2 separate regions of the Homo sapiens genome follow, and region 2 is linked to region 1. Evidence: promoter capture Hi-C in human tissues and cell types (Jung and others, 2019). All regions are on one chromosome and are shown on one strand. The core of a region is centred on a gene start or on the middle of the fragment in contact, and the rest is flanking DNA. Distances in the headings are between cores, read along the strand shown.

Region 1 (4,556 bases), core at 544-3,043:
ACTTACTACCTCCTCAGAAATTAAGTTTGCGCTGTCCAACAGCAAGAGGAATTCGCTTGATAAGAATAATTAAACACATAAAGGCAATGCCTAACCTCGTAACGCCACCCCATATTCCTTAATCTTTACCAAGCCACTATAAGACGGCAGAAAACACAAGCTGCACTTTCGTTCTTTTCTCGTGTCCCGTTTTCAACAGACCATGGATTTTTTTTTTTTTTTTTAGATGGAGTCTCGCTCTGTGCCAGGCTGGAGTGCAGTGGCACGATCTCAGCTCACTGCAACCTCTGCCTCCCGGGTTTAAGCAATTCTCCTGCCTCAGCCACCAGAGTAGCTGGGACTACAGGCGTGTGCCACCACGCCCAGCTAATTTTTTTTGTATTCTTAGTAGAGAGGGGGTTTCACCTGTTGGCCAGGATGGTCTCCATCTCTTTACCTCGTAATCCGCCCACCTCGGCCTCCCAAAGTGTTGGGATATTATAGGCGTGAGCCACCGCGCCCGACCAGAACATGGAAATTTAAAGAGAAAAAAATAAGTGACTTCTGATTTCAAAAACACAACCACCCACTTTTCTATTCTATTCCTGGTGAGCACATTCTGGAGACTCTGCGGCAACCATAGCCTCGGCCGCGGCGGAAGGCTCCGGGGCGGCCACACCTCAGGGGGCAGCCACACCTCAGGGGGCAGCGCGCACAGGCGGGTCAGGCTCTGATTCCCATCTCTCTCCGGTCTTCACTGGAAGGACCCACACTACATCACAAACTAATGGCTTTACAATTAACTTCTAAGTAGCTAAATTTAGTAATGGGCGCTCTAGTTTTAAAAAATATTATTCAGGCCGGGCGCGGTGGCTCACGCCTGTAATCCCAGCACTTTGGGAGGCCGAGGCTGGTGGATCACCTGAGGTTAGGAGTTCAAGACCAGCCTGGCCAAAAGGGTGAAAACCCGTCTCTGCAAAAATACAAAAAATTAGCCAGGCGTGGTGGCGGACGCCTGTAGTCCCCAGCTACTCGGGAGGCTGAGGCAGGAGAATCGCTTGAACCCGGGAAGCGGAGGTTGCAGTAAGGCGAGGTCGCGCCACTGGACTCCAGCCTGGGCAACAAGAGCGAAAGCGAAACTCTGTCTCAAAAAAAGAATATTATTCAAAAACTGATTTTCACATTTTTAAAAAAGACCCACTGAGGGAGGAAGACCGAATCCCACACATGCGCGCGCACAGCGGTTCCGAGTTCTGCAACCAACCTCCCACGGGCGCCGCGCCTTCTCCGCGTCACGTGACGGCCGTCTCCCGCACCTTCCATACTCTCAATGTAGGGAGAGGACGGGTTCCATCAGCAATTTAATAAAAACCATTGGTGAAGCAAAAAAAAAAAGCCTGCCAACCTCTTATAACGTTTTTTCTTTATTTTTCTCTTTTATGTGGACAGGAAGCCTTAGGTTGGCTATATTTACCCTCAAATCTCTTTTTAAAATGATTTTTAAGTTTCAGCATACTCCCGCGCTTAATGAAATGGTTTCCCCCAGCATCCCCAGCTGGTGCGGTCTGAACCATTCGGAACTTCCCAGAGGGGGGCACCGGAATAGGGGCGGTGGAAAAGGGTAATTGTCGGGCAGCGGCCCCTGCTTCCCAGTCAGACCTCGGAGTTGTAGGACTCGGACTGTGTTCCTGGGCTTGCGAGAGCTAGGGAGGCCCGGCTCTCCTCGCGGTGCAGGACGCGCTCGGACGGCTCCCGCACCCCCACCGCAGTGTTGGGTGGTGGTACGGCTCAGGGAGTCACGCGCCTGGGTGTCGGCGGGGCTGCGGGACCGCGAGTGAGTGTGGTCGCTCCTGGTTCTGCCAGCTCCCCTGAGAGCCTGAACCCGGGCTTGAGAGCCTCGCCACCCCGGGTGACATCCCTGCCGTGGGCTTGGGGGCTCTGGGTGTGATTCCGCCGGTCCGGGTCCCGCAGCGACCACCTACCCAGCGCAGTCAGGGGCGGGGCTGGGACCCAGAGCGGGACCCCGGCTGCCGAGTCCAGGTGTCCCGCGGGCCTCGATTTGGGGAGCAGGTAGGCGGGGGTCTGAGGGGTTGGCGGAGGGGCATGTCCGAGTTTTCGTTGGTCCCAGGTGGACGAGTAATGGGGGAGGGTTTAGGGCCAGAGTCCAGGGCGTCGCCGAGACCCTGAGATTTGAAGATAGGTTGGGGGCACGCCCATTAACCAAGTCTATGGGGATGAGGACTGTGATCTCATTTGATGTTGCCATGAAACGGGACTGTTTGCCTTCCCTTCTCCCAGGTTTTGTCTTCGCTCTGTTTGGAGGAGAGGGTGTGTGTCATCCTCTTCTCCCAGTTTGGCGTTCAGGAGGGTCCTCTGATGCGCTAATAGGGTAGCACCGTGTCCTCCAGGGAGGGTGGAAGACCGCGCTTCTCTCCAGTTGAGAGTACTGTCAGTCGCGTCCTTGTCTCCTGGAAAGAATGGATTGGCTTGTGGATTGAAGTCCAAGGTGTGGTCACTAGCAGTCTCTTCAAGTGGGGACACAGGGCAAGGAGGAGCTTGCTGGAAGTAGGTTCTGGCTCTCTAGCCTTTGGCCACAGCCAGTTTAGTGCCAGATTATCACCGTGGTCATCAAGTAATTGAGTAATAGTGGCAGGTGACACTGCGTTTGCCCTTCTAGTGTCCTATGTCAGGGAGCTCTGTGAATGGAAATCCAGGGAAACGGTGGAAATAGAGCCACAGTGAGAGTGGATCTGAACTGGCAGTCATCCCCTGCAGAACTTTTCACCCTGGGCTTGTTGGGATCCCAGCTGCTAACTTAATGAGGCTCCCCAGTGGGAGACTAGTTATAGAAGCTGTGTGTCCACTGCTGGTTAAGATCCGTTATAGTGCTTTGTTTATTTAGAGTGCCCTTACTTAGTGGCCTCTTTAATTCTCCACGGTGCTATGAGAACACCATAGGAAGTAGGGTTGAAATAGGGCCAGGGCGCACCACGGGTGGTGGTGAGGTCACTGTCCAGGTCTGGGACTCAGCCATTGTGGGAGGGGGACATGAACAGACACTCTACCACATCAGGGAATTTGAATACTGTCTTTGGATATGTTGATGAAGAGACTGTCAGCCAGGGCATTTCGGCTTCCTATGTGGGTTCTGGAAAGCTTGTTGGAAACAGACTCGTGAGACACACTCAAACCAGTTTGTTTTCTTCAGCAAACACCTGGTAGAGATTGGAATTGAACAGTGAGTGAAGAATGACCTCACGCTGCCCAGAATTCTGATTCCATGTGTAATGCGAATTCTGAGAGGCCTCTGTTTCTCAGCTTTTGGGTGGTATTCAGAGAGGTCTAGTAACACTTGGTGTCACCTGGCTGGTGAGGGCAGGCTCCGGTGACCGCAAAGCTAAGTGCTCTGTAGGGCACCTCCCTCTCTTTCAGGGGCTGCCTGGGCCTCTGGTGCACATGATCCATGGAGTCAGAGTCAGAGCTCTCGTCTGACAAGTGCTTTTGCTTTCTTTCTTTCTTTCTTTCTTTTTTGGAGACAGAATCTCATTCTGTCGCCCAGGCTGGAGTGCAGTGATGCGATCTCGGCTCACTGCCACCTCCGCTTCCAGGCTCAAACGATTCTCCTGCCTCAGCCTCCTGAGTAGCTGGCACTACAGGCACGTGCCACCAGGCCTGGCTAATTTTCGTATTTTGTATTTTTTGAAATGGAGTTTTACTCTTATTGCCCAGGCTGGAGTGCAATGGTGCGATCTCAGCTCACTGCAACCTCCGTCTCCCAGGTTCAAGCAATTCTCCTGCCTCAGATTCCCCAGTAGCTGGGATTACAGGCATGCACCACCACCATGCCTGGCTTTTTTTTTTTTTTTTTTTTTGAAATGGAGTCTTGCTCTGTGGCCCAGGCTGGAGTGCAGTGGTGCGATCAGCTCACTGCAAGCTGTGCCTCCTGGGTTCACGCCATTCTCCTCCCTCGGCCTCCCCAGTAGCTGGGGCTACAGGCCCCCGCCACCATGCCCAGCTAATTTTTTGTATTTTTTAGTAGAGACGGGGTTTCACTGTGTTAGCCAGGATGGTCTCAATCTCCTGACCTCGTGATCTGCCCACCTCGGCCTCCCAAAGTGCTGGGATTACAGGCGTGAGCCACCGCACCCAGCCTAATTTTTGTATTTTTAGTAGAGATGGGGTTTCAATATGTTGGCCAGGCTGGTCTCGAACTCCTGACCTCGTGGTCCGCCTGCCTCGGCCTCCCAAAGTGCTGGGATTACAAGCATGAGCCACCACACCCGGCAATTTTTCTATTTTTAGTAGAGACAGGGTTTCACCATGTTAGCCTGGCTGGTCACAAACTCCTGACCTTAGGTGATCTGCCCTCCTTGGCCTCCCAAAGTGCTGGGATTACAGGCTTAAGCCACTGCACCCAGCGAGTGCTTTTCATTAAAAGGAAAAACGAATAAGAGTAGCCCATGTTTTGGCCAGACATGGTGGCTTATGCCTGTAATCCCAGCACTTTGGGAGGCCGAGGAGGCGGGAGAATCACCTGAGGTCAGGAGTTCAAGACCAGCCTGGCTAACATGGCGAAA
Region 2 (3,971 bases), core at 43-2,542, 280 kb after region 1:
TATTTTCTTTGTCCATTCATGTGCTGATAAACGATTGGGCTGTTTCCACCTTTGGCTGTTGTGAATATGCTGTTCTGAATGTTGGGGCACAAGTATCTGTTCACATCCCTGTTTCAGTTCTTTTGGATGTTTGCTTAGGAGTGGAATTACTGGGTCTTGTGGTAGTTTTATGTTTGTCTTTTTGAGGATCTGCCAGACTTTTCCACAGCTGTTGCTCTGTTATACATTCCCATGAGCAGTGCCTTCACATCCACTTGCTTCAGATCTCTAACGCTGCTTATTTTCCATTTTTAATAATAGCCATCCTAATGGGTGTGAAATGATATCTCATTGTGGTTTTAATTTGCATTTCCCTAATGACTAATGATGTTGAGCATCTTTTCTTGTGCTTGTTGACCACTTGAATGTTTTATTTGGAGAAATGCTGATTCAAGCCTTTTGCTCAGTTTTGACTTGAGTTGTTTGGTTTTTTGTTGTTGAGTTTTAGGAGTTCTTTATATATTCTGGATATTAACCCCATATTAGGTATATGATTTGAAGATATTTTCTCCCATTCTGTGAGTTGTCTTTTCACTCTCTCAATAGTGTCCTTTGGTGCACAAAAGTTTTAAATTTTGATGAAGTCCAATTTATCTAATTTTTTCCTTTCATTGCCTATGCCTTTGGTGCTGTATCCAAGATATCATTGTCAAATTTAGTGCATGGAGATTTTCCCCTATGTTTTCTTCCAAAAGTTTTATAGTTTTAGCACTTAGTCCATTTTGAGTTAATTTTTGTATGTGGCATTAGGTAAGCATTCAATTTCATTCTCTTGCATGTGAATATCCAATTTTTTCAGCATCATTTATGGAAGAGACTGTCCTTTTCCCCATTGAATGGAATTGTTAGGGTTTTCTACATATAAGATCGGGTTATCTGTGAACAGAGATAATCTTATGCTCTCCTTTCCACTGTGGATACTTCTATTTCTTTTTCTTGTCTAAGTGCTCTGGCTAGTTCTCCTGGTGCTATGTTGAAAAGAAGTGGCAAATGTGTGTATCCTGGCCTTGTTCTGATCTTAGGGCAAAGCTTTCACTTTCACCATTGAGAATGTGGGATCTCAAATATGGCCTTTATCATGATAGGAAAGTTACTTTCTATTCCTAGCTTCTCAAGTGTTTTTATCATTAAAAAAAGTTGGATTTAGTCAAGTGCTTTTTCTGCATCAATTGAGAAGACCACTAAGTTTTATTATTCATTCCTTTAGTGTGGAACTACCATTGCACTCCAAAAATAAATCCCACTTGGTTATGGTGAATAAACTTTTCATGTGCCATTGGGTTCAATTTGTATACATAAGACATATTCGTGTGTAATTTTCTCTCCTTGTGACATCTTTATTGTAATTTTGTATTAGTGTAATGCTGACTTCATGAATGAGTTAGGAAGTGTTCTTTTCTCTTTGGTTTTTGGGAAGAGTTTCAGAAGAATTGGTGTTCATTCTTTTTTAAATGTTTTGGTAGAATTCACTAGTAAAGCAGTCTTGTCCTGAGCTTGTCACTGGTAGGTTTCTGATTACTGATTCAATCTCGTTATAGGAGTATTCAAATTTTCTGTTCATTCATCAGTTTTGGTAGATTGTGTATTTCTAAGAATATGTCCATTTTTATCTAGGTTATCCAATTTGTTGGTGTACCATTGTTTATAGTATTCTTTTATAATCCTTTTTATTTCTGTAAAATAAGTAATAAAGTTCTTAATGTCATTTCTGATTTTAATAATATGAGTCATCTCTCTTTTTCATAGTCAGTCTACCTAAAGGTTTGTCAATTTTGTTGATCTTTTCAAAGAGGAGCTTTTGGTTTTGTTGATTTTCTCTATTGTTTTTTCATTCTCTGTGTTATTGATCTCTGCTCTAGTATTCATTATTTCTTTCCTTCTGCTATTTTTGGATTTGGTTTGTTCTATTTTTATTTCCTCAAGGTATATAATTAGGTTATGATTTAGTTATGATCAGGTTATGATTCTTCTTTTTCAGTGTATGTATTTACATGAATTTCCCTCTTTGCATTGCTTTTGTTGTATTTCATAACTTTTGGTATGTTGTATTTTCATTTTCATTTGTCTCAAGATATTTTATAATTTCCCCTGTCATTTCTTCTTCGACCAATTTGTTGTTGAAGAGCGTGTTGTTTAATTTACACATATTTGTGAATTTTCCAATTTTCCTTCTGTTATTGATCTGTAGTTTTATACCACTATGATCAGAAAAGAAACTTTGAATAATTTTAATTTTAAAAAATTAAAAAATTTTAAAGTTTAGCCTTGTTTTGTGGCTGAACATAAGGTCTATCCTGGAGAATGTTCCATGTGCACTTGAAAAGAATGTGTATTCTGCTGTTGTTGCATTGAGCGTTGTCTATATGTCTGTGATGTCTAATTGGTTTATAGTGTTCTTGATGTCCTCTATTTTCTTATTTATGTGTCTGGTAGTTCTGTCTTATTATTGAAAGTGAGGTACTGAAATATCCCAATATTAGTGTAGGACTATCTATTACTCCCTTCAACTCTGTCAATTTTTGTTTCATATATTTTGGAACCCTGTCATTAGGTGTGTATACATTTATAATTGTTACATCTTTATGCTGTATCCCCTTTATTAATATATATTGTCCTTCTTTGTCTTTTGTAATTTTTTTGTGATTTAAAGTCTGCTTTGTCTGACAACAGTATAGCTGCCCCAGCTCTCTTTTGCTTTCTATTTGCATAAAATACCTTTTCCATTCTTTTACTTTCAACTTCTATTTTACCACTATTTTACTCATTGCCTATTAAATCATATAGGAAAAAATTGGAGTTACAAACCACGCAAAAAGTAAAATAATTCTGGCTTTGTATTTTTTTTTAATCTAAAGTAAGTCTCTTATACACTGAATATACATGAAGCCTGTGGGTTTTTAAATCCAATCTGCCAATTTTTTTTTTTACTAGCAGAGTTTAGTTCATTTACATTTAATATGATCACTGATAAAGATTTACTTCAGCCATTTATATATTTGTTTTATGTATGTCTTACATGTTTTTGTTTCTTCAATTACTTCATTTTTGTATTTTGTTCATTTTTTTTGTAGTGGGCCACTTTGAGTCCCTTTTTCTTTCTTTTTCTATACATATTTTAGTTATTTTCTTGGGGATTACAATTAATATCTTAAACTTATGACGTCCTAGTTTGAATAATATCAACTTAGTTTCGGTAGGTCATAAGAGCTTTGCTCCTGTATGTCCCTGCCTTTCCCTTTATATTGTGATTATCACATACTGCATCTTTGTACACTCTATGACCACTAACATAGGTTTGCAATCACTGTTTAACTCATTGCCTATTAAATCATATAGAAAAAAAATAGGAGTTACAAACCATGCAAAATGTAAAATAATTCTGGCTTTTATAGTTACTTATTTAGTTACCTTTATATTTACTTCACTTTTTCTTATGTCTTCAAGGTACCGTCTAGAGTACTTTTATTTCAGCATGAAAGACTCACTTTAGGATTTCTTGTAGGGCAAGTTTACTGATAATGCACTGCTCAGATTTTGTTTATCTGGAAAAGTCATAATTTCTCCTTCATTATTGAAAGGTGATTTAAAATTATATACAATTCCTGGTTGACAGCTTACTGTTTTCTTTGAGGACTTTAAATATATCATTTCACTACCTTCTGGCTGCCATGGTTTCTTAGGAGAAATCAGCTGTTACCGTATTGATGATCCTTTGTACACAAGAAGTTGCTTCTCTCTTGCTGCTTTCACAATTCTCTCTGGCCTTGGGTTTCCTTGATTTTATTGTAATATGTCCTGGTGTGGGCTTCTTTGAGGTTTTCCTGCATCAAATTTATTGAGACTCCTGAATGAGTATATTCACGTCTTCTCAGATTTGGGAAATTTGGGGCCATTATTCCTTCAAATACTTTTTCTGCCATTTTGTCCCTTCT

Evidence for each region. The method cuts DNA at HindIII sites, captures the fragments that hold promoters and counts their contacts. A contact is called where the count stands out against the background at its distance.
Region 2: a fragment that was not itself captured here is called in contact with the fragment with the promoter of FLCN in region 1 in 1 of the 25 tissues and cell types used here (mesenchymal stem cells).

The regions. Positions count from the first base shown.
Region 1 is chr17:17,234,405-17,238,960 of GRCh38, reverse strand. FLCN (folliculin) reads left to right here and starts at 1,793. Exons shown (of 14, transcript NM_144997.7): 1 at 1,793-2,049. RefSeq lists a silencer at 847-1,032 and an enhancer at 1,467-1,576. The HindIII fragment of the contact is 7,502 bases long and covers 1-4,556 here.
Region 2 is chr17:16,957,407-16,961,377 of GRCh38, reverse strand. All of the region lies in intron 1 of TNFRSF13B (TNF receptor superfamily member 13B), which reads left to right. Among named protein-coding and RNA genes, the nearest start is that of TNFRSF13B, 13 kb to the left of the region's middle. The HindIII fragment of the contact is 3,635 bases long and covers 1-3,109 here.